7 separate regions of the Homo sapiens genome follow, and regions 2, 3, 4, 5, 6 and 7 are each linked to region 1. The links are contacts of gene promoters, found by promoter capture Hi-C in blood cells and fetal thymus (Javierre and others, 2016). All regions are on one chromosome and are shown on one strand. The core of a region is centred on a gene start or on the middle of the fragment in contact, and the rest is flanking DNA. Distances in the headings are between cores, read along the strand shown. Region 1 holds the start of ZFP69B (ZFP69 zinc finger protein B). Region 2 overlaps RLF (RLF zinc finger). Region 3 has its middle 22 kb from the start of PPT1. Region 4 has its middle 23 kb from the start of RLF. Region 5 overlaps CAP1 (cyclase associated actin cytoskeleton regulatory protein 1). Region 6 has its middle 3.2 kb from the start of PPT1. Region 7 overlaps PPT1 (palmitoyl-protein thioesterase 1).

What was found. The method cuts DNA at HindIII sites, captures the fragments that hold promoters and counts their contacts. A CHiCAGO score of 5 or more calls a contact.
Region 2: a fragment that was not itself captured here is called in contact with the fragment with the promoter of ZFP69B in region 1 in 6 of 17 cell types (neutrophils, total B cells, naive B cells and 3 more); the score reaches 7.3 in neutrophils.
Region 3: a contact is called between a fragment that was not itself captured here and the fragment with the promoter of ZFP69B in region 1, in 5 of 17 cell types (total CD4 T cells, neutrophils, naive CD8 T cells and 2 more). The highest score is 9.0, in total CD4 T cells.
Region 4: a contact is called between a fragment that was not itself captured here and the fragment with the promoter of ZFP69B in region 1, in 12 of 17 cell types (total CD4 T cells, naive CD8 T cells, total B cells and 9 more). The highest score is 16.0, in total CD4 T cells.
Region 5: a fragment that was not itself captured here is called in contact with the fragment with the promoter of ZFP69B in region 1 in 1 of 17 cell types (total CD4 T cells); the score reaches 6.2 in total CD4 T cells.
Region 6: a fragment that was not itself captured here is called in contact with the fragment with the promoter of ZFP69B in region 1 in 3 of 17 cell types (erythroblasts, naive B cells and naive CD8 T cells); the score reaches 7.3 in erythroblasts.
Region 7: a contact is called between a fragment that was not itself captured here and the fragment with the promoter of ZFP69B in region 1, in 2 of 17 cell types (total B cells and total CD4 T cells). The highest score is 8.0, in total B cells.

What each region holds. Positions count from the first base shown.
Region 1 is chr1:40,449,076-40,453,106 of GRCh38, forward strand. ZFP69B (ZFP69 zinc finger protein B) reads left to right here and starts at 1,401. Exons shown (of 5, transcript NM_023070.3): 1 at 1,401-2,013. The coding sequence starts at 1,887. ZFP69B-DT (ZFP69B divergent transcript) reads right to left here and starts at 964. Exons shown (of 5, transcript NR_198977.1): 1 at 745-964. RefSeq lists a silencer at 1,020-1,279 and an enhancer at 1,495-2,694. The HindIII fragment of the contact is 15,908 bases long and covers 1-2,493 here.
Region 2 is chr1:40,183,463-40,187,126 of GRCh38, forward strand. All of the region lies in intron 1 of RLF (RLF zinc finger), which reads left to right. Among named protein-coding and RNA genes, the nearest start is that of RLF, 24 kb to the left of the region's middle. RefSeq lists a silencer at 3,084-3,273. The HindIII fragment of the contact is 6,433 bases long and covers 1-3,664 here.
Region 3 is chr1:40,117,283-40,120,865 of GRCh38, forward strand. No RefSeq gene overlaps it. Among named protein-coding and RNA genes, the nearest start is that of PPT1, 22 kb to the left of the region's middle. The HindIII fragment of the contact is 3,880 bases long and covers 1-3,583 here.
Region 4 is chr1:40,136,847-40,140,583 of GRCh38, forward strand. No RefSeq gene overlaps it. Among named protein-coding and RNA genes, the nearest start is that of RLF, 23 kb to the right of the region's middle. The HindIII fragment of the contact is 6,332 bases long and covers 1-3,737 here.
Region 5 is chr1:40,061,053-40,064,681 of GRCh38, forward strand. It overlaps CAP1 (cyclase associated actin cytoskeleton regulatory protein 1), which reads left to right. Exons shown (of 13, transcript NM_006367.4): 4 at 683-760; 5 at 3,175-3,318; 6 at 3,422-3,507. Among named protein-coding and RNA genes, the nearest start is that of CAP1, 22 kb to the left of the region's middle. The HindIII fragment of the contact is 3,835 bases long and covers 1-3,178 here.
Region 6 is chr1:40,098,447-40,102,481 of GRCh38, forward strand. No RefSeq gene overlaps it. Among named protein-coding and RNA genes, the nearest start is that of PPT1, 3.2 kb to the left of the region's middle. The HindIII fragment of the contact is 1,194 bases long and covers 796-1,989 here.
Region 7 is chr1:40,077,235-40,080,298 of GRCh38, forward strand. PPT1 (palmitoyl-protein thioesterase 1) reads right to left here. Exons shown (of 9, transcript NM_000310.4): 7 at 1,326-1,424. Among named protein-coding and RNA genes, the nearest start is that of PPT1, 18 kb to the right of the region's middle. RefSeq lists a silencer at 1,520-1,569. The HindIII fragment of the contact is 2,165 bases long and covers 696-2,860 here.

The DNA of each region.
Region 1 (4,031 bases), core at 151-2,650:
TCTCAAAAAAACAAACAAACAAACAAACAAAAAACCGGAAATTTATTTTCTCAGTGTGGAGACTAGAAGCCCCAAGTAAGGTCGAGTTGGGTTCGTTTCTGACTAGGACTATATTCTAACCTTAATTACTTCCATAAAGGCCTTATCTCTAAATACTCTCCAAATACAATGGAGGTTAGGGCTTCAAGATAAATTTTGGGGAATCCAAACATTCGGTTCATAACAGCTAGCAAGTACTATAATTGTATTCTATTTCCTCATTTGTTGTTTTTGTAAACTGTTGATGTAGAAATGTATTTGGAGTGATGTACTCAAATTTTGTTGGAGGGAGAAAACTCAGCAATAAAACAGCATTACAGTATAATCGCTTTTGTGGAAAATATATAACAATGCATGAAATACGTTGTGTGTGTGCAGGAAAGGTTGTACACCAACTGTTAGCAAGGTTACCGCTGCTTGCTGAAATTACAGGCAATAATTTTTTTGTTTTTGTGTATTTTCTGGCATTTCAGAAATACAAGGTAAGCAATAAACATGAGAACTTTTATTGAATACTAGAAGAGAAAACTGTTGTGGTATTCTTTTAACAATATACCGGAATCCATTCAACTGTCTGCTGAGAATAAATAACTGGCATGTACATAATATTTAGGGAAAGTGCTATGGATTATTTTACACCAGTGTCGTTTCACCAAAAAACGTGATGCCGATGGCTCCCTTTTGTCACGGGTTTCAAAGGCTCACCCTAACGTTCACGTGCATTTTCCCAGCGGAGGAAAGATGGTTGTTCTTCATCAGAGTCTGGGGCCCAAGAACGCAGGCTCCATCTCCTCCCGCAGGAGCCAGGCTGATGATGCTCGCAGGGATCGGATACTGGGAGCCCCTGAACGCAGCCAACCCGGCGCGCACCGGTGGGGGCGTCTGCGCTGGCGGAGCGGCTCCCCGGGAGGACGCTGGGAACCATGCTCTAGCCAGCCGCTGCGCAGGCGCACTGGGCCCCGACTGCCCGCCGCAGCGCTACGTGGGAGCTTGGCCGCGCAGTGCCGGAACCCGGCTGCAGCGGTGGGAAGGCGGGGGCGTGCCGGCCCAGCGGGGAGAGGGTGAGCGGGTGGCTGTCCCGGGCTTGGGGAGCTGGGCGAGCCGGGAAGCGCGAGTTCCGCCCGCGGCCACCCTGTCGCGCGCGGTGCTCTCCGCAGCCCCGGAGTCGTGCTCAGACAAAGGCTGGGAGGCTAGGGCCGGGGGCGTTTTGCTTTGTGGGGAGGACTTAGCCTCTCATTTGGGGAGGAGGAGGCGGGGTCTAGCGGTTTCGCGGTTTGCTACAGCCGACTAGTGAAAGAGCTGGGATTCCAAATCCCCGGCTACTTTACACATAATTACTGCCCCAAACAAAGAATTGGGTTGTATTCGTCTCTTTGTGCTTCCTGACATGTGCGCGGTGCTTTGAATTTTGTGGGCTGTGTCTGCCCACCGTCTCCGTGTATCTTTTGGAAACATTTTACAGTGATCCATATATGTTCTAGCGTTCTGCCCTATGACTGAGCCTCCTTAGTCCTTTGCTGATTCTAATGTCTTCTGCTCAGCATCTGCAGGGGCTGCTGAGAGTAAATACTTGGCGCCTCCAGCTGCTGGCCAAGGAGACAGATGGAGCTCAAGTTGGGAGATACGCCCTGAGAGCCGATGATAGACACAAGTCCAGATCTCGGATTTTGATACTGTATGTTCCCTGGGTTCCTGAGAGAGGACATTGAGGAGTAGGAGTCGGCGATTAAGGAGATCGGTACAATTGGGAAGCCTCCTGTCAGAGCTTCCAGCAATTTCCTCATCAGAGGTGGACAAGCCCTATGGGCTAAGACAGAGGGTCCTCAGAAAGGAGTGCGGACGCCGTCATGCTGCAGCAGCTCCTGATCACCCTGCCCACCGAGGCCAGCACCTGGGTGAAGTTGCGTCATCCAAAGGCGGCCACGGAGCGGGTGGCCCTGTGGGAGGATGTGACTAAGATGTTTAAAGCAGAAGGTAAGAATAAACTGATGGGTGGGAGGGAGGAAAAGCAGTCCCCTCTAGTGTGAGAAGGAATGAGTCACTTGAGTGGAAGCATCTCTTAGGGAGACGAGTGGGTGGAGGGTTTCCGGAGTTGTTGATTGTGGCTCCTAGTCTGGGGTTTTCCTAAGTAGTGGTGGTCTTTTCAGCCTAGGACCAGTATTTCAGTGTCATGGTTATGTATATTATTTATTTTCATCTTTCCCATGGCCATGTGGGGCAGGATGGACTTAACCTGATTTTTCTTATTCTAACAGTGGGGAAATGTAAATCAAATGGGAGGCCTGCCCAGGGTCACACAGGAACTTGGTGGCTAGGTCAGAAAGAGAAGCAGCAGGGGAAGTACCAGGTGAGCCTGGAGTAACTTGTGCTAGAAAGCAAGGAAGAGCTTAAAGACTATGGATATGTGTCAAAAGAGGCCAGGTTTAAGGGTCTCTCACTCGACAGATTTGGGAAAGCTTAAGTATCCAAACTGATGGTAACACCTTGAATAAGTAAAATTCCACATGATCACCTTGACACTTAAAATAGAGAAAGACGTGGGGGGGGGGGAATTCATTTGCAAACATTGGAGGTAATTAATACACTGATTCCTTACTTTGAAAAATAGGTTATTATGGGAATGAATGTGCATTTACCTTGCCTTTTAGATCCTCTTCAGTTGGTGAGGGAAAGCTTTTTACAGAAAATGCGTGCCAATAATGAAGGTAGAAAGAGGCCAGGTGTGGTGGCTCATGCCTGTAATCCCAGCAATTTGGGAAGCCAAGGTGGGCGGATTGCTTGAGACCAGGAGTTTGAGGTCAGCAGTTTGAGACCAGCCTGGCCAACATGATGAAACCCCATCTCTGCTAAAAATACAAAAATTAGCTGGGCGTGGTGGCACATGCCTGTAATCCCAGCTACTCGGGAGGTTGAGGCACGAGAATCGCTTGAACTAGGAAAGGGGAGGTTTCAGTGAGCTGAGATGGCGCCACTGCACTCCAGGCTGGGTGACAGAGCAAGACCTTGTCTCAAAAATAAATAAATAAATAAATAAATGTAGAAAGAATGATAGAATCTTTTACCGTAAATAAAATAATTGAAAGGTTAATGGGGAACAGATACTCACATGATATCAAAGTATTATCCCCTCAAATTACTTACTAAATGGCAAGGAATGAACATAATTTTCCAATAGTGAGGTGTGGTGGTCACAGTTTTAATCAAATGTCTCAGTAATGGGATAGCCGGGCATTTTATACTTTGCAGATACTGTAATATAAAGCACCTGGTACCACCTACAAGGTATTCCTACCAAAAATGTTGAACATGATCCTAAATTAAGTTTAAAGACTGAACTGCTGGTTTACAGAAAATACAGGGGATGGAGAAATGAGATAAACCTCACATTGAGGATACAGTCAGACTGTTCTTGTATCTTAAAAAGACAACATCATGAAGAAAGGGGAAGTACTTATTCTAGAGTAAAAGAGACTAGAGGTAACAACCACTTTGAATGTGTGAGCCTTGATTAACTCCTGGTTTGGAAAAAATCCAGAATAAAAGTTGAGGAAACAGTTGAGGAAATCTGAATATGGACTGAATATTTAGATGATACTATGGAATTATTGTTAATTTTCATAGATTTAATAAATAGTACTGTGGTTGTACAAGAGAAGATCCTTATTTGAAATATTTAGGGATAAAGTATTATGATGCAGACGACTTTGAAGTGCTTCAGAAAAAATGTAGATAGGTAAAGCAAATATGGTAAATATTAACAATTGTTGAATCTAGATGTGGATGTATAGATGTTCAATATTCATGATAAAAAGTTGGAATAAAATACAAAGACAGTTATTCATGTGCCTTAATTCCTAGTGGTTTTTTTTTTTTTTTTTTCCTGTCACCCAAGCCGGAGTTCAATGGCTCGATCTTGGCTTATTGCAACCTCTGCCTCCCGGGTTCAAGTGATTCTCCTGCCTCAGCCTCCCAAGTAGCTGGGATTACAGGCG
Region 2 (3,664 bases), core at 975-3,474, 260 kb before region 1:
AAGCATTCACTTTAGAATGGAAGTTAGATGTTGTAAACTCGGGAAGAAGGCCAAATGATGACCATGACACAACTTGCTACAAAATATTAAAGCTGATGCTGGGGGTGAGGGGGCAGAATTTAAAAGCACACTTAAAATAGTTGAATTGTGAAAAGGCATAAAGAAAGCGTGGTGATTAAGTGTGGGCTGAGGAGCCAGATGGCTCTAGTTCAAATCCTGAATCTAACACCTATTGGATGACTTTGCCCAAATAATTCAATCTCTCATGTTTCCTCATTTAAAAAAAAAAAAAATTCCCAAAAGACAACTTGACAGTGGCTCCTCATTTTTGAAATGGGCTGATAATAACTCCTAGCTCATGGAGTTGTGCATATTAAATAAGTTTAGTGGCCGTAAAGCTCTTAGGAAGTGCCTAACCCATACTATGTGCTCAGTAAATATAATTATTTCATTAGGAAAGTTAATCCTGAACTATGTGAAATTTAAATTGGAATGTATTCTTTAAACATTAAATGTGACCATCCTGAAAGAAATTCTCCTTTCTTGATAGTTTCAAGGAATAGTCAGAATGCTGCCAAGCTCCTTGAAACCATGTAGTGAGAAATGTAGAGAGAATTAAGGGTGAGGGGAGATTTTTTTTGCTTTGAAAATGTAGTCATGCTTATTAAAGAAAATTTGAGAAGTTTAGAAAAGTATAAAGATGACAAAAATTGCTCATATTCCTGCTACCTCAGTGCTAACCATGTAAGCATTTTAGTTAATTTCTTCTAGTCATTTTCCCCTTGGACATTAATTTTTTCAATGTACAGACATACGTGATTATAACACATATACAGAACTAGAGGTTATTTAGCCTAGAGAAGTGAACCAATGTAGCAGTCTAGATGAGGGATATTGGGGGCCTGGTTTAGGTGAATGGCTACAGAGATAAAGCATAGGGACAGGAGACAAAGATATTTCTGAGATAGAATCAACAAACTTTGGTGTGGTGGTTTCAAAGATAGTTTTTTAGCTCTGGCTCCTGAAAGGAGGCAGATGGAACATAGGAGGAAGAGCATATTTGCTGGGGAAGATGTTTGGTTTTGGACATGCTGAGTTTGAGATTTGAATAGGACATCCAGATGGAAATATGTAATAGGCAGTTGAGGTATATAGCAAGGACTTGAGAGAGTAATTTGAGGGTAATCTGCTTGGGATGTGAATGAGAGCACCGAATAGTCAAATATGGTGCGTAAGTGAGCTAATTTTTTACTTATATATCTGACCCCTTAGTATATATCATAGCCTTTCAAGGGCAGGAATAGAGTCTCCATCCTTACTTCCCAGCACAGTACAAAATAGTAGGTATTTGTGGAATGAGTTTACTGAAACAAAAGAGAGAGGTCATTAATTTGGTCACTGTAGAATGAACTTTAGGAGGTCATCTTTATCATTTATTGCCCCTTTTCTCTTCAGTTGTGATTTCAGTTCCTAAAGAAAAATAAGAGACCGTGGCTGGGTACAGTGGCTCACACCTGTAATCCCAGCACTTTGAGAGGCCAAGGTGGGAGGACCACTTGAGGCCCAGGAATTTGAGACCAGACTGGGCAGCAAAGAGACCCTGTCCCTACAAAAAAAAAGTTTTTTTTAATTGGCTGGGCATGGTGATGCACTTCTCCAGTCCTAGCTACTCAGGAGGCTGAGGTGGGTGGGAGAGAGGATCACTTGAGCCTAGGAGTTTGAGGTTATAGTGAGCTGTGATTGAACCACTGAACTCTAGCCGGGTTCAAGCAATTCTCCAGCCTCAGCCTCCCAAGTAGCTGGGACTAGAGGCATGCGCCACCACGCCCGGCTACTTTCTGTATTTTTAGTAGAGACAGGGTTTCACCATGTTGGCCAGGCTGGTCTGAACTCCTGACCTCAAGTGATACACCTGCCTCGGCCTCCCAAAGTGCTGGGATTACAGGCGTGAGCCACCTTGCCTAGTCCAGTTTTTTAAATGCAAGATTAGGTTGAAAGGATTACAGCCATCCTGTTATTTGGATGGCTGTAATCCTTTCAACCTAATCTTGCATTAAAAAAAAAAAAAAAAAAAAAAAAAAGCCGGGCGCAGTGGCTCCCAGCACTTTGGGAGGCCGAGGCGGGCAGGTCACGAGGTCAGGAGCTCGAGACCATCCTGGCTAACACGGTGAAACCCCGTCTCTACTAAAAATACAAAAAAAAAAAAAAAAAAAAAATTAGCCGGGCATGGTGGCGGGTGCCTGTAGTCCCAGCTACTTGGGAGGCTGAGGCAGGAGAATGGCGTGAACCTGGGAGGTGGAGCTTGCAGTGAGCCAAGATCGTGCCACTGCACTCTAGCCTGGGCTGACAGAGTGAGACTGTCTCAAAAAAAAAAAAAAAGCAAAAAAAAAAAAAAAAAAAAAACCACAAAGGCTGGATGCGAGGTGGCTTTTGCCTGTAATCCCAGCACTTGGGGAGGCCAAGGCAGGCGGATCACTTGAGGTCAAGAGTTCGAGACCAGCCTGGCCAAAATGGTGAAACCCCATCTCTACTAAAAACAGGAAAATTAACCGAGCCTGGTGGCGCACAGTTGTAATCCCAGCTACTCAGGAGCCTGAGGTGAAAGGATCCACTTGAATCTGGGAGGTGAAGGTTGCAGTGAGCCGAGATTTCACCACCGCACCCCAACCTGGGTGACAGAGTGAGACTTGATTAAAAAAACAAAAAGAAAGAAAGAAAATGCCTGGCTAGCCACAGTGGTTCATGCCTGTAGTCCCAGCTACTTGGGAGGCTGAAGTGGGAGGATCACCAGCAGTGATAGAATGAGACTCTATCTCAATTTAAAAAAAAAGTGATAATGAAGAAGATTGATTATTCCAGCCATTCTTCACATACCCAGAGTATGCTTATAGTGGGTATAAGAGATCTCACTACTTAATTTGAACCAACACATGAGGGGGTAAAGATTTAGGAATATAAAAAGTATAAATTAGTATAGAGCAAACTGGAAGTTCCTCAAGAGTATTGAATCTTTGAAATTGTGTAGCTTACAGAAGTCCTGGTGGAATGTCTGTCAGAAGCTATTAGATTGGTGGCAAGAGCGTTCTAAGTGGACAGGTGGATTGTGGAAAGACTAACCCCATCTGTATGCACTCTGTCCTTCTCTTTGCATACTTTAGTTAGCAGTTGGTTAATTTGCATGTGTGGTTTCAGCCATCATGTTGTATTGACTCATTCTGAAAGCTCTGTGAGGATAGGCCACATGTCTGCCCGCCCCCACTGCATCTAGCACTTTATGTGTGATAATCTATTGAAAAATATTTGTCAAATGAATAAAATGGTGAATGTATTCAGCAGACATTTAGTGAGACTTGAGAATGTCCTGTGGGGGTGGAAGTGGGTAGAGGAGTGGTAGGCCTATAAGGATTGATGAGACATAATGTCTGACTTTAAGGAACATAAATCTGGCACTAAATATAAATTTTTGAAACTCCTTAATTCTTAGATTAGCCAATGCAGACAGTAAGTAACTTACTGACCTAAACCAGAATTTTTTTGTAACATAGATTTTAATAAATTTCTTTGTTTTTTGTTTTTTGGTTTTTTTTTTTGAGACAGTCTTGCTGTGTCGCCAGGCTGGAGTGCAGTGGCGCAATCTTGGCTCACTGCAACCTCCGCCTCCCAG
Region 3 (3,583 bases), core at 462-2,961, 330 kb before region 1:
CTATCAGCAAGGGTATTAGGAACTCTGTCTCATGAACTGGGGCAGAGACATATTTCTTATTTCTTAATGGTTTTTATTTATTATTATTTCACAGATGGCTACTATTAAAACAACACAGAAAATAAGTGTTGGTGAGGATGTGGATAAACGGTAACCCTCGTACATTGTTGGTGAGGATGTAAAATGGTATAGCTGCTGGATAAAACAGTATGGTGGTTCCTCAGAAAATTAAAAATAGAATTACTATATGATCCGCATTTCCATTTCTGGATATATACTCAAACAATTGAAAGCAGGGTCTTGAAGAAATGTTTGAACACCCATGTTCACAGCAGTATTATTCACAATAGCCAAAATGTGGAAACAACCTAAGTGTTCATCGAAGAATGAATAGGTTAACAAATGTGGTCTATGCATACAATGAAATATTATTCTGTCTTCTTGCTCTACTTGTTTCTCCTGTTCCTAACCTCTAAAGGTAGAGTGTCACCCCTTAGTCCTGCGGTCTCTTCTCTGTTTATACTTACTCCCTAGATAATGTCCTCTGGCGCCATGACTTTAAAAACAATAGCGGTGGCTCACACCTGTAATTTCAGCACTTTGGGAGGCTGAGGCAGGCAGATCACCTGAGGTCAGGAGTTCGAGACCAGCCTGGCCAACATGGTGAAACTCCATCTATACTAAAAATACAAAAATTAGCCAGGCGTGGAGGCAGGCGCCTGTAATCCCAGCTACTCGAGAGGCTGAGGCAGGAGAATCGCATGAACCCAGGAGGTGGAGGTTGCAGTGAGCCAAGATCATGCCACTGCACTCCAGCCTGGGTGACAGAGTGAGACTCCTTCTAAAAAAAAAGAAGAAGAAAACCAAATATCTTTATGATGATCTCCAAGGCCCTTAAGTCCTTAACTACATCCACACCCCCAGCCTTATGTCTCTGGTTGCATCCCTCACCTGGCCACCCCTCATTCACTGAGCTCTAGCACACTGGCCTCCTGCTTCTATGAGGCCACCAGGTCGACTCCCACCTCAAGACATCTGCTGTTCCTTCTGCCTGAACTGCTCTTCCTCCAAGTATTTGCGTGTTTTTCACCCTCACTTCATTCTGATATCTGTTCGAAGGTCACCTCCTTAGAGCTTTCCCCAAGCAATATATAGTCATCCCTCAGTATCCGTGGGGAATTGGTTCTAGGATCTCCTCTGATACCAAAGTCCAAGGAGCTGAAGTCACTCACATAAAATGGCATAGTATTTGCATGTAACCTATACACATCCTCCCATATGCTTTAAATCATTTCTAGATTTCTTATAATACCTAATATAATGGAAATGCTGTGTAAATAGTTGTTATACTATATTGCTTGGGGAGTAATGACAAGAAAAAAAAGTCCATACATATTCAGTACAGACAAAACCACGCTCTTTTTTTCCCCAAATATTTTCCATACCCGGTTGGTTGAATCTGCTGATAGAGAACCTGCAGATATGGAGGGCCAGTTGTATATGCTCCTATCACTCTTGATCCTCTTTACCATTTCGTTTTCCACCTAACATTATATTATATATCCATTTGTTTATGACCTGCTTTGTAAGTGACATAAAGAACTTGTCTTATTTAATACTATATTCCTGACAACTAAAACAATTCAGAGCAGAAGCACACAACCAAGAGTTGTTGAGAGAATAAATGATCGAATGGATGGGTCTTAGATAAAGGTAGAAGATGGCTCTGCTTTTGAACACTCCAGGATGAGGGGATGTTACTCTCTCATTGCCCACCTATAGTTTCTCCTACGCTTAGTGCTGGCCTAAACCATGCTGTGTCCCTTTAATATTCAAAAGGTTCGTGCTTAGGGTGGGACCAACAAAATGGGTATAACCATGTATTGACTACTCCTTTAGGAGCTAGCACAGAGGAGCTCTCTGTCGCCCTGTGAAAGCACTGACTTGCCTGAGTGAGTCTATTGCCTCATCTGATAGTGGGATTGTGGGTGCTGCTGGCTGATACCCCAATTCTTCCTATTTGTCTTTGGCAAGCCCAACTTTTCTGACACCATCTTCTGCTCAATTCCAAAACCATTGTCAGGCTCTTCAACTCTGCTGTGCCCCAGGGTCTCAGGTGCCTGAATATCTAATTCATGGCCTCAAAAAACCTAACGAAAAGTATAAACTTATCTGCAGACCTCAAGGCAGCATCTGGTTAACCACCCTCTGAAAACAGAAAGAGGATGATTCCAAACCCCACACTGTGGCCTTGGAAGCCCTACAGAGTCTGTTCCTACCTATCTCTCCAAACTCATCTCAGGCCCCTCTCCTCTTTGCTTACAAAATTCTAGCCAAAATGATCTTCTTTCTGTTTCTGAAATACCCCAGGCTTATTCCCATTTCATGGTGATGCAAGGCAGACAAGCCCCAAAATTGGGGCTTAGCCCAGGAGGGTTTTGTCTTTGCCAGGAAATAATTCAAGGGCGAGCTAGTGGTGTTAGCAACTTTTATTGAAGTGGCCGTGTACAGCTGCAGCAGCAGCAGTAGTATTGCTCCTTGAGGAGCAGGGCTACGCCATAGGCAGTGTGCCCACAGTAGCAGCTCAGTGGCAGTTCTGGAGTAGTCGTTATACTGACTTTTAATTATATGTAAATTAAGGGGAATATTATGCAGAATTTTCTAGAAAAAATGTCGTCAGGTCATTGCCATGGAAAGGGTGGTAACTGGCCAGGCATGGTGGCTCACACCTGTAATCCCAGCACTTTGGGAGGCTGAGGCAGGCAGATCACAAGGTCAGGAGTTCAAGACCAGCCTGCCCAATATGGTGAAACCCCGTCTCTACTAAAAATACAAAAATTAGCCAGGCATGGTGGCACATGCCTGTAGTCTCAGCTACTCAGGACGGTGAGGCAGGAGAATCATTTGAACCCGGGAAGAGGAGGTTACAGTGAGCCAAGATTGTGCCACTGCACTCCAGCCGGGGTGACAGAGCGAGACTCCATCTCAAAAAAAAAAAAGGAAAGAAAAAAGAAAGAAAAGAAAGAGCAGTAACTTCGGGCGTTGCCATGGAAATGGTAAACTGACATGGCACACTAGTGGGAGTGTCTTACAGAGAGGTGCTTTGGACTTTTCCCTGTTTTAGCTATTTCTCTATCTGGTCCGAGGTTCAAGCCCTGCCTCTGGAGATGAGTTTCACATCCTACCTCAATGGCATTTACAGTTGCCTCACCTTCTTCCTGAGACATTCTGTACCCAAATCTTTGCATGACTGGCTCATTCTTGTCATTAGTTTTTCAGCTCAAATGGGAGTCCCTCGGAGATGCCTTCCCAAGACCATCAGTCTACAATACAAGGCAGCACTGTTTTTTATTTTCTTCAGAGCAATGTTTACTCTTGTCCATTTTTGTTTACTTGATTATTATCAAACTCTTCTGTCTAAAGGAGGACTAACCAGTAGAATTTTCTGCAATGATGGAAGTATTGTTATATTTGAGCTGTCCAATATAGTAGCCACTAGTTACCATATGACTCCTATGCACTTGACATGTGGCTAGTGTGAATGAGTAAAAGAATTTTTAATTTAATTTAATTTAATTTTAAC
Region 4 (3,737 bases), core at 1,053-3,552, 310 kb before region 1:
GTAGGTTTTACATTTTCTGATTTTGAAACTTTTAATGAAGCCAGAGTCACTAAAACAGTGTGCTCTTGGCATAAAGACAGACATATAGACCAATGGAGTAGAAATAGAGCCCAGAAATAAACCCTCCTATATATGATCAAATGACTTTTGGCAAGGGTGCCAGGTATATTCAACTGGGAAAGGACAGTCTTTTCAAGAAATAGTTTTGGGAAAACTGGATATCCACATATAAATGAATAAAGTTAAAACCCTACCTTATACCATATACAGTAATTAATTCGAAGACCTAAAATAATTAGATCAAAGACCTCAAATAAGAGCTAAAACTATAAAACTTTTAAAAGAAAACATAACGTTGTTTATAACGATTGTTCATAACGTTGGATTTAGCAGTGATTTCTTGAATATGACACCAAAAGCACAGGCAACAAAAGTGAAAATAGATAAAACTATGCTCTAGGCTGGGCGCTGTGGCTCACGCCTGTAATCCCAGCAATTTGGGAGGCCGAGGCGGGCGGATCACCTGAGGTTGGGAGTTCAAGACCAGCCTGACCAACATAGAGAAACCCTGTCTCTGCTAAAAATACAAAATTTAGCCAGGTGTGGTGGTGGGCGCCTGTAATCCCAGTTACTCAGGAGGCTGAGATGGGAGAATCGCTTGAGCCTGGGAGGCGGAGGTTGCAGTGAGCTGAGATCGTGCCATTGCACTCCAGCCCGGGCAACAAGAGTGAAACTGTCTCAAAAAACAAACAAACAATGCTCTAAAGGACACAATCAGGGTAAAAAGGCAACCCACAGAATGAGAGAAAATAATTGCACTCCTATATCTGATAAGGGGTTAATATCCAGAATATACAGAGAGTTCTCACAGCAAAACAAACAACCCAATTAAAAATTGGGCAAATAAGCTGGGCACAGTGGCTCACGCCTGTAATTCCAGCACTTTGGGAGGTTGAGGCAGGAGGATCATGAGGTCAGGAGATCGAGACCATCCTGGCTAGCACAGTGAAACTTTGTCTCTACTAAAAATGCAAAAAAATTAACCAGGCATGGTGACGTGCACCTGTAATCCCAGCTACATGGGAGGCTGAGGCAGGAGAATTGCTTGAACTGGGAGGTGGAGGTTGCAGTGAGCTGAGATCACACCACTGCACTCCAGCCTGGGCAACAGAGCAAGACTCCGTCGCAAAAAAAAAAAACAAAAAAAACAAAAAGGGCAAAGAGCTTGAATAGTTATTTCTCCAAAGAAGATATGCACATGGCCAAAAAGCACATGCAAAGATGTTTGACATCACTAATCATTAGGGAAACGCAAATCAAAACAACGAGCTACAATCTCATACGCATTAGGATGGCCACTATCAAAAATATGAAGAAAATAACAAGTTTTGGTGAGGATGTGGAGAAATCAGAATCCTTGTGTACTGTTGATGGGAATGAAAAATGGTGCAGCTGTTGGCTGGGCGCGGTGGCTCACACCTGTAATTCCGGCACTTTGGGAGGCCAAGGCGGGTGGATCACCTGAGGTCAGGAGTTTGAAACCAGCCTGGTCAACATGGTGAAACCCCATCTCTACTAAAAATACAAAAATTAGCTGGTCGTGGTGGCGGGTGCCTGTAATCCCAGCTACTCGGGAGGCTGAGGCAGGAGAATCACTTGAACCCGGGAGGCGGAGGTTGCAGTGAGCCAGCATCACGCCATTGTACTCCAGCCTGGGCAACAAGAGCAAAACTCTGTCTCAAAAAAAAAAAAAAAAAAAAAGAAAGAAAAGAAAAGAAAAGAGAGAAAAATGGTGCAGCTGCTATGGAAAACAGTATGGCAGTTCCTCAAAAAATTAAACATAAAATTTTCATATGATCCAGCACTGATACTTCTGGGTATATATCCAAAAGAATTGAAGGCAAGGTCTTGAAGAGTTATTTGTACACCCATGTTCAGAGCAGCATTATTCACAATAGCTGAAACATGGAAGCAACCCAAATGTCCATCAACAGATGAATGGATAAGCAAAATAGGATATATCCATACAATGGAATATTATTCCACCTTAAAAAGGAAGGAAATCCTGACATATGCTATACCATGGATGTAGCACCTTGACAACATTACGCTAAGCCAGTCACAAAAAGACAAATACTGTATGATTCCACCTATATCAGGTACTTAGTAGTCAAATTTATAGACAGAAAGTTGAATAGTGGTTGTTAGGGGCTGGGGAGAAGGGAAATGGGGAGTTGTTTAATGGGTATAGAGTTTTAGATTGCAAGATAAGAGTTTTGGAGATTGGTTGCACAACAATGCAGATGTACTTAACACTATTGAACTATATGCTTAAAAACGGACAGGTTGGTAAATTTTATTTTATGTATATTTTGCCACAATTAAAAAATGGTTTTGAATAATTTCACACTTAGAAAAGATTTGCAAGATTAGTACAGAGAATCCTGAAGAATCTCCACCAGAGGCATTTTATCATATTTGCCTCCTTATCTCTTTATTTCTCTCTCTCTCTTTCCATATATATATACACACACACACACACACACACACACACACACACACACACATAAATATACACGAATTTACACCTAGTAGTTTTAGCATCCATTAATGATTCTTGCCTGGATTATTACTATAATGGCCACCAAATAGAGATTTTCCTATGTCCATTGTTTCTTCTACATTTATTACTTGAATTCTATAGTAAAGTATCATTTCCTTTCCCGTATCCTCTTTTTTTTTTTTTTTTTTTTTTGAGACCAAGTCTTGCTCTGTTGCCCAGGCTGCAGTGTAGTGGCGAGATCTTGGCTCACTACAACCTCCGCCATCCAGATTCAAAAGATTCTCATGCCTCAGTCTCCTGAGTAGCTGCGACTACAGGTGCACGCTGCCACACCCAGCTAATTTTTGTAATTTTAGTAGAAATGGGATTTCACCATGCTGGCCAGGCTGGTCTCAAACTCCTGACCTTAAGTGATCTGCCTGCCTCAGCCTCCCAAAGTGCTGTGATTACAGGCATGAGCCACTGGACCTGGTCTCCTGTATCCTTTTTAATTAATTTTTTATTTATATTAGTGTGGGCTTAAGGATTCCCAATTTATTCAATAAGTTATAATTCCTTACAATCATAATTTACTTTGATGACTAGATTGTCCCTGATTTGGCCAGTGGGAGCCTCTTTACACTGGCTCCTGTGTTCTTTTGACATTTCTCATCTGTATTAGTTTGCTATGCCTGCTGTAACAGTGTACCACAAACTCGGTGGCTTAAAACAGCTGCAGTTCTCATGGTTCTGAAGTCCAGACATTCAAAATCAACTTCACTGGGCCCAAATCAGGAATATTAACACGGCCATGCTTCCTCTGGGCTCTAGGGGAGAATTCGTTCCTTGCCTCTCCCAGCTTCCAGCTGGCACTTGGCTTGTGGCTGCACCACTCCAGTCTCTGCCTCCTGCCTTCTCCTTTTGCGTAATCTCTCTCTGCCTCTCTCTTACAAGGATACTTGTGTTTGCATTTAAAGTCCACTTGAATAATCCAAGACAATCTCCCCATCTCAAGTTCCTTGATCATATCTCTAAAGATCCTTTTTCTGTATATGATAATATTTACAGATTCCAGAGATTAGAGCTTCAGGGGCCATTACTTAGCTTACTACATCCTCATTCTTTGAATACTTCCTTTCTTCCTGAACCAGTAAGATTTTTCACTGCCCTAGTCATGAAATCAGCCATTTCTCTA
Region 5 (3,629 bases), core at 11-2,510, 390 kb before region 1:
TTTCTTAAATTCTTTTGACTGCGAATGACCCTTAGAAAGAAAGAACATATTCGTAACTGAGATAAAAGTTTCACAAGATGATATTTATACTACTTCTGCTGTACTTTTTTTTTTTTTAACTTTTTATTTGGAAATAACTTGAAGTTGGTGCACTGCACTCATACTTTTGTTCCATTAAGCTCACTAAATTGATTTAATTATTTATTAATGGGTCATGGTATCTGGCATTTGAGAGATAGCTTTAATCTAAAGGAGTAAATACCTTGAGAATTTTCAGCAGAAATTTAGGCCTTTGCCTTTACTCCTGTCTCCAATTTTTGAGAAAAGAAAGGTGTTTTTTTGGTTGCTGTTTGTTTTATTTTGCTGATGTGAAATAGGAAGGATTTTTCAGTGCACGGTATCACAATGCATGTGTAAGATGCTAACATGACTTCATGTAAGCTAGGTGATTATCCAATTAACTTCACTTCCAACTCTGGATATATATCCCTGATGAGTTCCAATAGGAACAGTAGTGTATGTAATTCTGCTCTCAGTCCCTGGAATCTGGAATACATGAGGAGGATAACATGAAGTGCCTGGGTTGCTATCAGAGTACATGGAAGTAGAGGTTTCAGGTTATTCTTATCAAGACTTCTCTAGTTATAATGTGTCATCAATAGCTGATTCTTCTTTCTGGCAGGCGGAGATGGTCCACACAGGTTTGAAGTTGGAGCGAGCTCTGTTGGTTACAGCTTCTCAGTGTCAACAGCCAGCAGAAGTAAGTTCACTACTAGCTGGTTTCATTTTGGTTTGATGCTCAGGACGAGTTGAGAGATTTATGTCAAGCTATTATAACATTTTAAAATAGACCTACTAGGCTTTTGATAATATATGTTCATACCAAGTCCCAGAGGTAGAGCCATACTTCAAGTGCCTTAATGGGAAGGTACTATTGGGTACTTAATGGTCTCTACTGGCTTTTTCTCTGTCATTTTGCATAGGACTGTGGTTATCCCTGGGACTTTGCTTGCCTGCCTCTTTGCTGAGTCCACATTCATCATAGTGTCTCCAAAGCCCTTTAAAGATGATTCTCTTGCTTCACTGTGGATGGGCTTTAGTAGTGCTCCTGTGGAGATCTTAAAACTCCTACAGTATTGCTTCTCTCCTCATCCTTCACTGGTTGGGAGACTCTCTCTTTAATTTTACTCCCACCTCAAAATTTTATGGTGCAAGATGTGAAAAGTTGAATTAGAGAAAATTTAGATTTCTCTTGGAGTCAAAGAATATAGGTTTCCTTCTTTTGCATTTGGTTTTCCTAGTTACAGAGGAATAATAAAGCAAGTTGTCCTAAATGCTGTATTAAAACCCTTGACCCTCAGCATGCCTAGATAATATAAAAATAGTGCAAGATAATGTCAAATATATTAGATTCTGGTTAAGTGTGCTGGCTCATTCCTGTAATCCCAGCACTTTGGGAGGCTGAGGCAGGAGGATCACTTGAGGCCAGGAGTTTGAGACCAGCCTGGGCAACATAGCAAGACCTCGTCTCTATTAAAAATTAAAAAAATAAAATAAATAAAAATAGCCAGGCAAGGTGGTGCATGCGTATAGTCCCAGCTACTTGAGAGGCTGAAATGGGAGGAAGATTTGGGCCTGAAAGTTTGAGGATGCAGTGAGCCATGAACACACCACTGCACTCCAGCCTGGGCGACAGAGCAAGACCTTCTCTCAAAAAACATTGTGTGTGTGTGTGTGTGTGTGTGTATAGATGCCATCTAATTCTAATATGTAGAATTAGATTTTAATTCTTAATCTGTCCTGAATGGTTAAGATCTGAGAATTGAGATGTTCAGGAAATGGAGCTTTGGAGGAAGGGTGCAAACACAAACAAAATTCATCCATTTTGCCAAGGTGCCTACTTGAATGCTAAGCCCCTAATTGTTTTTTATTTTATTTATGTTTAAAAAAAAATTTTTTTTTTGAGACAGGGTGTTGTTTTGTCACCCAGACTGGAGGGTAGTGGTGCAATCACAGCTCACTGAAGCCTTGACCTCCCAGGTGTAATGATCCTCCCACCTCAGCCTCCTGAGTAGCCTTGACTACAGTGTGCACCACCATGCCTGGCTTGCTTATTTACTTACTTATTTATTTATTTATTTCTGAGATGGAGTTTCTCTCTGTCGCCCAGGCTGGAGTGCAGTGGCAGGATCTCGGCTCACTGAAACCTCCACCTCCCAGGCTCAAGTGATTCTCCCACCTCAGCCTCCTGAATAGCTGGGACTACAGGCATGCGCCACCATGCCCAGCTGATTTTTGTATTTTTATAGAGATGGGGTTTCCCCATGTTGCCCAGGCTGATCTTAAACTCCTGGACTCAAGCGATCTGCCCACCTTGGCCTCCCAAAGTGCTGGGATTACAGGCGTGAGCCACCATGCCTGGCCCTAATTCTTTTTATTATTTGTAGAGACAAAGTTGTGCTGTGTTGTTCAGTCTGTCTTGAACTCCTGGTCTCAAGCAGTTCTCCTGCCTTGGCCTCCCAAAGTGCTGGGATTACAGGCGTGGGTCACCATGCCCAGACTAAGCCCCCTAATTGCATTTGATTCATCAGTTCTTTACAGCAGCTACTATATGGCTGGCAATGCATTGGGGGCTTTCATGATGATAAAAGAGCTCGTCTTTGAAGAATTAATGAGAAAGTAAAACATATTCACATGGGTCCATTAATAGTTTGTATTGGTGAGTGATAAAATGCCAAGATTGGTTATGCTGACAACAAATGCTGTAGGAGGCTGGTGTGGCTGGGTTGGAGGGCCCTCATGAAGCATGAGGAAAATTTGGATTCATGGGAAAAAAAGAGAACATCATGAGTAAGGCACAGGAATGATGTCCTGAGTGTATGTCCTCTGAGTGGAACAAAAAAGAGACAGGTGGCTGAAATGGAGGTTCTGTGGTATAGCTGAAGTATGGGTCCTGATCATGAAGAACCATCAGGTGCAGCCTGAGGAGTTGGAACTCTACGAGGAGAGTGAGATGATGAGCAGTATTTTAGCCTTAGGAATCAGGACAGGACTCATGCAGTTTATTTGGGTGCTCACTAGAGTCCATAGAGAATTCTTGCCTTCAGGATCAGAAGGCATAGACACCTTTGTGGAAAGATGTTAACCTGAATCTTTTCTTGTATCTTTTCCTAGAATAAGCTTTCCGATTTGTTGGCACCCATCTCAGAGCAGATCAAAGAAGTGATAACCTTTCGGGAGAAGAACCGAGGCAGCAAGTTGTTTAATCACCTGTCAGCTGTCAGCGAAAGTATCCAGGCCCTGGGCTGGGTGGCTATGGTGAGCAGCGCAGATTCCAGGGCTGGGGGTGGGTATAGATTTTAAGAGGGAAGGCAATATAGTTGGAGAGGTCCTGAGTCACTGACAGCTTGTCTCTCTCTAGGCTCCCAAGCCTGGCCCTTATGTGAAAGAAATGAATGATGCCGCCATGTTTTATACAAACCGAGTCCTCAAAGAGTACAAAGATGTGTAAGTTCAGCCTTTTCTCTCTTTTTTTCTTTTCTGAGACAGTGTCTTGCGTTGTCACCCAGGCTGAAGTACAGTGGCACAATCACAGCTCATTGCAGCCTCAACCTCCCAGCTCAAACAAT
Region 6 (4,035 bases), core at 143-2,642, 350 kb before region 1:
CATTGTACTCCAGCCTGGGCAACAAGAGCAAAACTCTGTCTCAAAAAATAAGAATAAAAAATAAATAAAAAGAGAGTACAGCCCAGGCAGCATAGCAAGACCCCATCTCTACAAAAAAAAAATTTTTTTTTAATTAGCCAGGGGTGGTGGTATGTGCCTGTAATCCTAGCTACTGGGGAGGCTAAGGTGGGAGGATCACTTGAGCCCAGGAGTTCAAGGCTGCATTGAGCTATGATCTCGCCATTGCACTGAGCTATGATCTCGCTGTTGCCCTGGGCAACAGTGAGACCCTGTCTCTCTCAAAAAAGAAAAATGAGGTAAATTTACATAAAGTGACATGAAAAATGCCCTTAATATGTTGTAAAAGAAAAGTCGATTACAAACCCACGGTCTGTAATCTCTTCTATTCCATGCCATTGGGACTAGAGGTAAGTTGTTAGTTGAAAAGTCGATTAAAATGCAGAATCCACTGGGCGCACTTTGGGAGGCTGAGGCAGGTGGATCACCTGAGGTTGGGAGTTTGAGACCAGCCTGGCCAACATGATGAAACCCCATCTCTACTAAAAATACAAAAAATTAGCCGGGCATGGTGGTGGGTGCCTGTAATCCCAGCTACTCAGGAGGCTGAGACAGGAGAATCACTTGAACCCAGGAGGCAGAGGGTGCAGTGAGCCAAGATTGAGCTACTGCACTCCAGCCTGGGCAACAAGAGTGAAACTCTGTCTCAAAGAAAAAAAAATGCAGAATCATAAAGCATTATACAGTACAGTATACAGTTTTGTTTTAAGAAAAATAAGCTTATTGTATAAGCATTTTATTTTAACTTAAGACTTACAAATTGAAGTAGTTTCAGGATTTTTCTGTGAATATAGCCCGCTCAATGAAGTTTCCTGCCTTTAATGAACTATTTATAATTTCTTTAAAGGTTTCTTTAAACTGGAGCAATAACTGAAAGACACTTGTGAAGCAATCTGAATGCAATTTTTTTTTTTTTTTGAGACAGGGTCTTGTTCTGTCCCCCAGACTGGAGTGCAGTGGCGTGATCTTGGCTCACTGTAACCTCCACCTCCCGGGTTCAAGCGATTCTCGTGCCTCTGCCTCCCGAGTAGCTGGGATTACAGACACACCACCAACATGCCCCGCTAATTTTTTGTGTTTTTTGTAGAGACAGGGTTTCGCCATGTTGCCCAGGCTGGTCTCGAACTCCTGAGCTCAGGCAATCCGCCCCCCTCAGCCTCCCAAAGTTCTAGGATCACAGCTGTGAGCCATTGTGCCAGACCAACATTCTTTTTGTTTTTTATTTTTGATTCAGGGTCACATATGCAAGTTTGCTATATAGGTAAGTTGTATGTCAAGGAGGTTGGGTGTACGTTTTATTTTGTCACTGCCATAATGAACATAGTACCCAATAGGTAACTTTTCATTTCCACCCTCATGTAGGCCCCAGTGTCTGTTGTTCCCTTCTTTGTGTCCATCTGTACTTAATGTTTAGCTCCCACTTATAAGTGAGAACATGTGGTATTTGGTTTTGTTTTCCTGCATTAGTTTGCTTAGGATAATGACCTAAGCAGTTCCATCTATGTTGCTGCAAAGGACATTATCTCATTCCTTTTTTGGCTGTGTAGTATGCTATGGTGTATACCTACCACATTTTCTTTATCCAGTCTACTGTTGATGGATACTTAGGTTAATTCCATGTCTTTGCTATTATGAATAGTGCTATGATGACTTTTTTTTTTTTTTTTTTTTTTTGCGACAGGGTCTTGCTCTATTCCCCAAGTTGGACTGCAGTGACACAATCATAGCTTACTGCAGCCTGGAACTCCTGGGCTCAAGGGATCCTCCCGCCTCAGCCTCTCAAAGTGCTGGGATTACAGGTGTGAGCCACAGTGTTTGGATGTGAAATTATTCTAGATGGAAGACTTTCCACTCTCAGATTTCCGACCCAGAGTTACTTTAACAATTTTTTTTAACAACTTGCCTTTAACAAGCTTTTCCAATGCATTCAACTTAGTTTTCACAGAAACATCTCTTTTCTCTTTATGCTCATATTTCATGTTTTCAAAAATTTAACTAAATTATGATAGCAAATATCACCGATATATTAATAAATAAATAAAATAAGCCCAAAGGCATTTAGTAAGCAAGTAGCTCAATTGACAGGAACAGAACTACCCAAGAGTTCTGAAAAGCAGCCTCTAGCCATGTGGGCATGCTGTGGGCATAGGTAAGTAGGTAAGTACATTTTAGAACTGGGAGAGTAAGTTAAACAGGGCATAAGAAAATAACTATGTATTTATGTACATACATATATGATGGTTGTACAACTCTATAAATTTACTAAAAATCATTGGTTTGTACACATAAAATGGGTGACTTTTATGGCATGTGGAATATATTTCAATAAAGCTGTTCTTTTTTTAAAGAAGACATCTGTGTATTTATATATTTGTACATTATCACTGAAAGGTCAAAGCATTGCCAAGAAAAAAGAGGCTGGGTGCGGTGGCTCACGCCTGTAATCCCAGCACTTTGGGAGGCTGAGGCGGGTGGATCACGAGGTCAGGAGATCGAGACCATCCTGGCTAACACGGTGAAACCCCGTCTCTACTAAAAAATACAAAAAATTAGCCGGGCGTGGTGGCAGGCACCTGTAGTCCCAGCTACTCGGGAGGCTGAGGCAGGAGAATGGTGTGAGCCCGGGAGGCGGAGCTTGCAGTGAGCCAAGATCGAGCCACTGCACTCCAGCCTGGGCGACAGAGCGAGACCCCATCTTAAAAAAAAAAAAAAGAAAGAAAGAAAAAAGAAAGAAAATAAATATTTAAAAAGATCTGGAGACCGTTAAAAGTAATATTCTTGAGGGCAGTATTACAAGGAACTTTCACTTTTTACTTTATATACTTGTGTTTGGTTTGAAATTTTACAGCAAGGATATACAATTTTTATAATAAAAATGGAAAATATACACACATTAAAAATTATTAGACTTCTAGATTAAGAAAATGGAGTAAAGCTATCTCACAGACTCTGTTTCAACCAATATCTAGGAAAGTTTAAAAAGTTAAAATTGTATCCACGGCAAAAAAACGTCAGTATCTTAAATGTCAGTAAGTGGTGGTCAAGGAAATAAATAGAAGATTCTGGGCTGGAGCATGTCAAGGCTTCCAGTTCTGCCTTCATTCCATCAAAACTCATACAATTAGATCCACAAAATCCTGACAATTAACACAAACATATCCACATACATTACAAGAGAGAAGAAAAGTAAACGCTTTCCTTCTCTTTCCCCTCCCATCTCTGGAAAATTGAAAATGGCTACTGGGGAGAAAAACTTGAAATGGGAAGTATGGAATAGACCAAATCTTTAAGATGGCAGTGAAGACTCAGGAAAACATGCTGAACTGAGAGAAGTTCCAAAAAGTGAAGCTATCTTTTCCATGGAAATGGACTACACCAGCCATTAGTGGGGTGAACTTTGGAATAGACACTTAACAAAACCTCAGAAGTGATTGCAGAACTTAGGTATTCTAACAAAGGCTGCACATGAGCAGCCCTCTCCCCTCTTCAGACAAGCATAAAAATCATAGAAAAACTGCATACTGCATAAAATAACACTCTTCTAACTGCAGTTCAGTAGGAAAAACAAATAAGTTTCAAATAAAGTGGAAAGCAATTCTGGAGACAAATAGAAAAACAAAAAACTTCACCCCAAGTGCTTTGAGCTGTAGAACAATTTATTAAGAAAATGACCTCAGGTCAGGTGTGGTGGCTAACACTTACGTAATCCTAGTGCTTTGTGAGGTCAAGGTGAATGGATTGCTTGAGGCCAGGAGTTTAAGACCAGTCTGGGCAACATAGCAACACCTTGTCTCTACAAGAATAAAAAAATTTAACCAGGCATGGTGCTGGGCACCTGTAATCCTAGCTACTTGGGACCCTGAGGCAGGAGAATTTCTTGAGCCCAGGAGTTCAAGGTTACAGTGAGCTATGATTGTGCCACTGTACTCCAGCCTGGGCAACAGAGCAAGACCTTGT
Region 7 (3,064 bases), core at 528-3,027, 370 kb before region 1:
CCAGTCTTGCAAGGCACGGAAACAATTCACTGTTGAGTACAGAGGTCAGCAAACGTTTTTGTAAAGGCCAGATACAAAATATTTTAGGCTTTAAGGGCCATATGGTTGTAACTACTCATTGCTGCCACTGTAACAAATGCAGCCACAGACAGTATGTAAAAAGTAACTAAAACTGTTCCAATAAGGACACTGAAATTTAAATTTTACATAATCTTTATATGTCCAAATACTTGATATGTCTAAATAAATTTTACATAATCTTTATATGTCCAATTCTTTCCCCCAACCATTAAAAAATGTTAAAAACATTCTTTTATGTTAGTGTTTGGTGTTACTCGTGGGTAGCACCAAAACGGGTAGCAGGATGGACTGGGCCTGTGGGCCACAATCGGCCAATCCCTGGTGGTGTGACATAACGTGATGAGTGTTTTAACAGAGGCTGATGATTCTAAAAAAGCGATCACATTCTGCTTGGAATGGGGATGGCATCCTTGCCTTGACAGACGAATAGAAATTGTCAGGTGGAGAAGCCAAGGAAGGGCATTCTAGAGACAGAAATATATGAACCAAGGCATACGAGAGAAAAAGCACAAGTAGTACAATATGGCTTGATCAAGAGTGTATGAAGCGTGCAGACAAGGCAGATTAGGCTGGAAAATGGGGTGAAGCCAGATCAAGGCAGACCTTGGAGGCCAAGCTTAGGAATTTATATATTTTGGGCTAGTGATTCTGAACATTTTTTGGGTCTCTGATCTCTGGAAAATGGATTAAAATTATAGATCCTTCCCCAGAGAATGTAATTACATAATTTTGCATAGAATTTTGGGGTTGGGGGATTGATTACAATCTTCAGTGTCCCATTTATGGACCTCAGGTGAAGAACTGTTTTATACAAAAGTTGGTGGAAGGGACTGAAGGTTTTTTCCCCAGCAGGCAGCTGTATTTTTTCATTTCATTTCAATTTCATTTTATGTTCTTTTTGAGACAGAGTCTCGCTCTGTCACCCAGGCTGGGGTGCAGTGGCACGATCTTGGCTCACTGCAAGCTCTGCCTCCTGGGTTCAAGTAATTCTCCTGCCTCAGCTTCCCAAGCAGCTGGGATTACAGATGGCTGTCACCATACCCGGCTAATTTCTTTTTGTATTTTGAGTAGCGATGGGGTTTCACCAAGTTGGCCAGGCTGGTCTTGAACTCCTGACCTCAGGTGATCCACCCGCCTTGGCCTCCCAGAGTGCTGGGATTACAGGCATGAGCCACCGTGCCCGGCCAGCAGCCCTATTTTAATGCCATTTACTCTCCTGGCATGTGGCCTAAGTAGTGTCTCACCTCCGAATCTACAGGGTCCACAATGGAATCATTGAGGAATTTCACCATCACAAACTTCTTCAGGGCCATCAGGTTTTTCTTGTAGGACTCATTGATACCCTGAAAGAAAGGCCAGCAACACCTAAGGTCATTACCATCAGACACCAGCAGAGGGAGTAAAGCCTTCCTGTTTTCTGGTCTCCCTGACCCTGTGCCACTGTGTTTCTTCCCCATGGGTATGGGCTGTTTTCCAGCTTCCTGACCAGGATATACCTGTACAGCTTTTTTTTTTCTTTTTTTCTAAAAAACAAAATATTTTATTTTAGATTCAGGGGGGTACATGTGTAGTTTTGTTATAAGGGTATATTGTGTGATGCTGAGGTTTGGGGTTCTGTTGATCCTTTCACCCAGATAGTGAACACAGTGCCCAACAGGAAGTTTTTCAGCCCTAGCCTCTCCCTCCCAGCTTTTGGAGTCTCCAGTGTCTATTGTTCCCATCTTTATATTCACGTGTACCCAATGTTTAGCTCCCACTTATAAGTGAGAACATGTGATATTTGGTCTTCTGTTTCTGTGTTCATTTGCTTAGGATAACGGCCTCCAGCTGCATCCATGTTGCTGCAAAGAACAGGATTTCATTCTTTTTTATGACTGTGTAATATTCCATGGTGTATATGTACCACATTTTCTCTATCCAGTCTACCGCTGATGGGCACCTAGGTTGATTTCATGTCTTTGCTATGGTGAACAGTGCTGCAATAAACACGAGTGCAAGTGTCTTTTTGGCAGGACAATTTGTTTTCCTTTGGGTATATACCCAGTCACGGGATTGCTTACACAGCCTTTTCTTTTCCTTTTTTTTTTTTTTTTTTTTTTGAGATGGAGTCTCGCTCTGTCACCGAGGCCAGAGTGCAGTGGCACCATCTCAGCTCACTGTAACCTCTGCCTCCCAGGTTCAAGCGATTCTCCTGCCTCAGCCTCCAGAGTAGCTGGGATTACAGGTGATCGCCACCACATCCAGCTAATTTTGTATTTTTAGTAGAGACAGGGTTTCACTATGCTGGCCAGGCTGGTCTCGAACTCCTGACCTCAAGTGATCTGCCCACCTCGGCCTCCCAAAGTGCTGGGATTACAGGCGTGAGCCACCACGCCCGGCCTTCTATAGGCTTTTCTTACCATCCTATCTGACTGACATGCCACTGAGCATGGCATACAGGTACAACTATGAGTTTACACCACACTCCATAGGTGTCCATCACATAGGTGAGAGGCTTCTAGTCAGAGAAAGCCAAGACAAAATAAGAAACTGCAAATTCTGGGTCGTTCTGCTATATACTATTCTGTGTTGTTTTTTGTTTGGTTTGTTTTTCCCTTCAAACTGTTTCAAAACAAAAAACCAAAAGACTCTCCAGATGAGTCAAATATAAACTGAGCCATCTAGTTTACCAGAACCTACCAAACCATGTTTGTGTCTGGGACATACTCAGTGCCTACTGTATCTCTCTTTTAGGTAAATCTCTAGAGAAAAATCCACCCCCAGACTGATCCATCAGGAAAGCTTCCCTCATTAAGACAGCAGCTGTGAATTTCCACCTCGCCCAGTCAGCAACCTGCCGAGCTTATCCTGTGTGTTTCAACACTAGGAGAGGGAAAGAACTTAAGGGAAGAAAGGCAAATGAATTTCAACCTCCCTAAAGGGAACTGAATCTCAAAGGCCCTGCCTCCCAAAAAAAACAGAACTTCTCTTTCCTAGTGTCTGC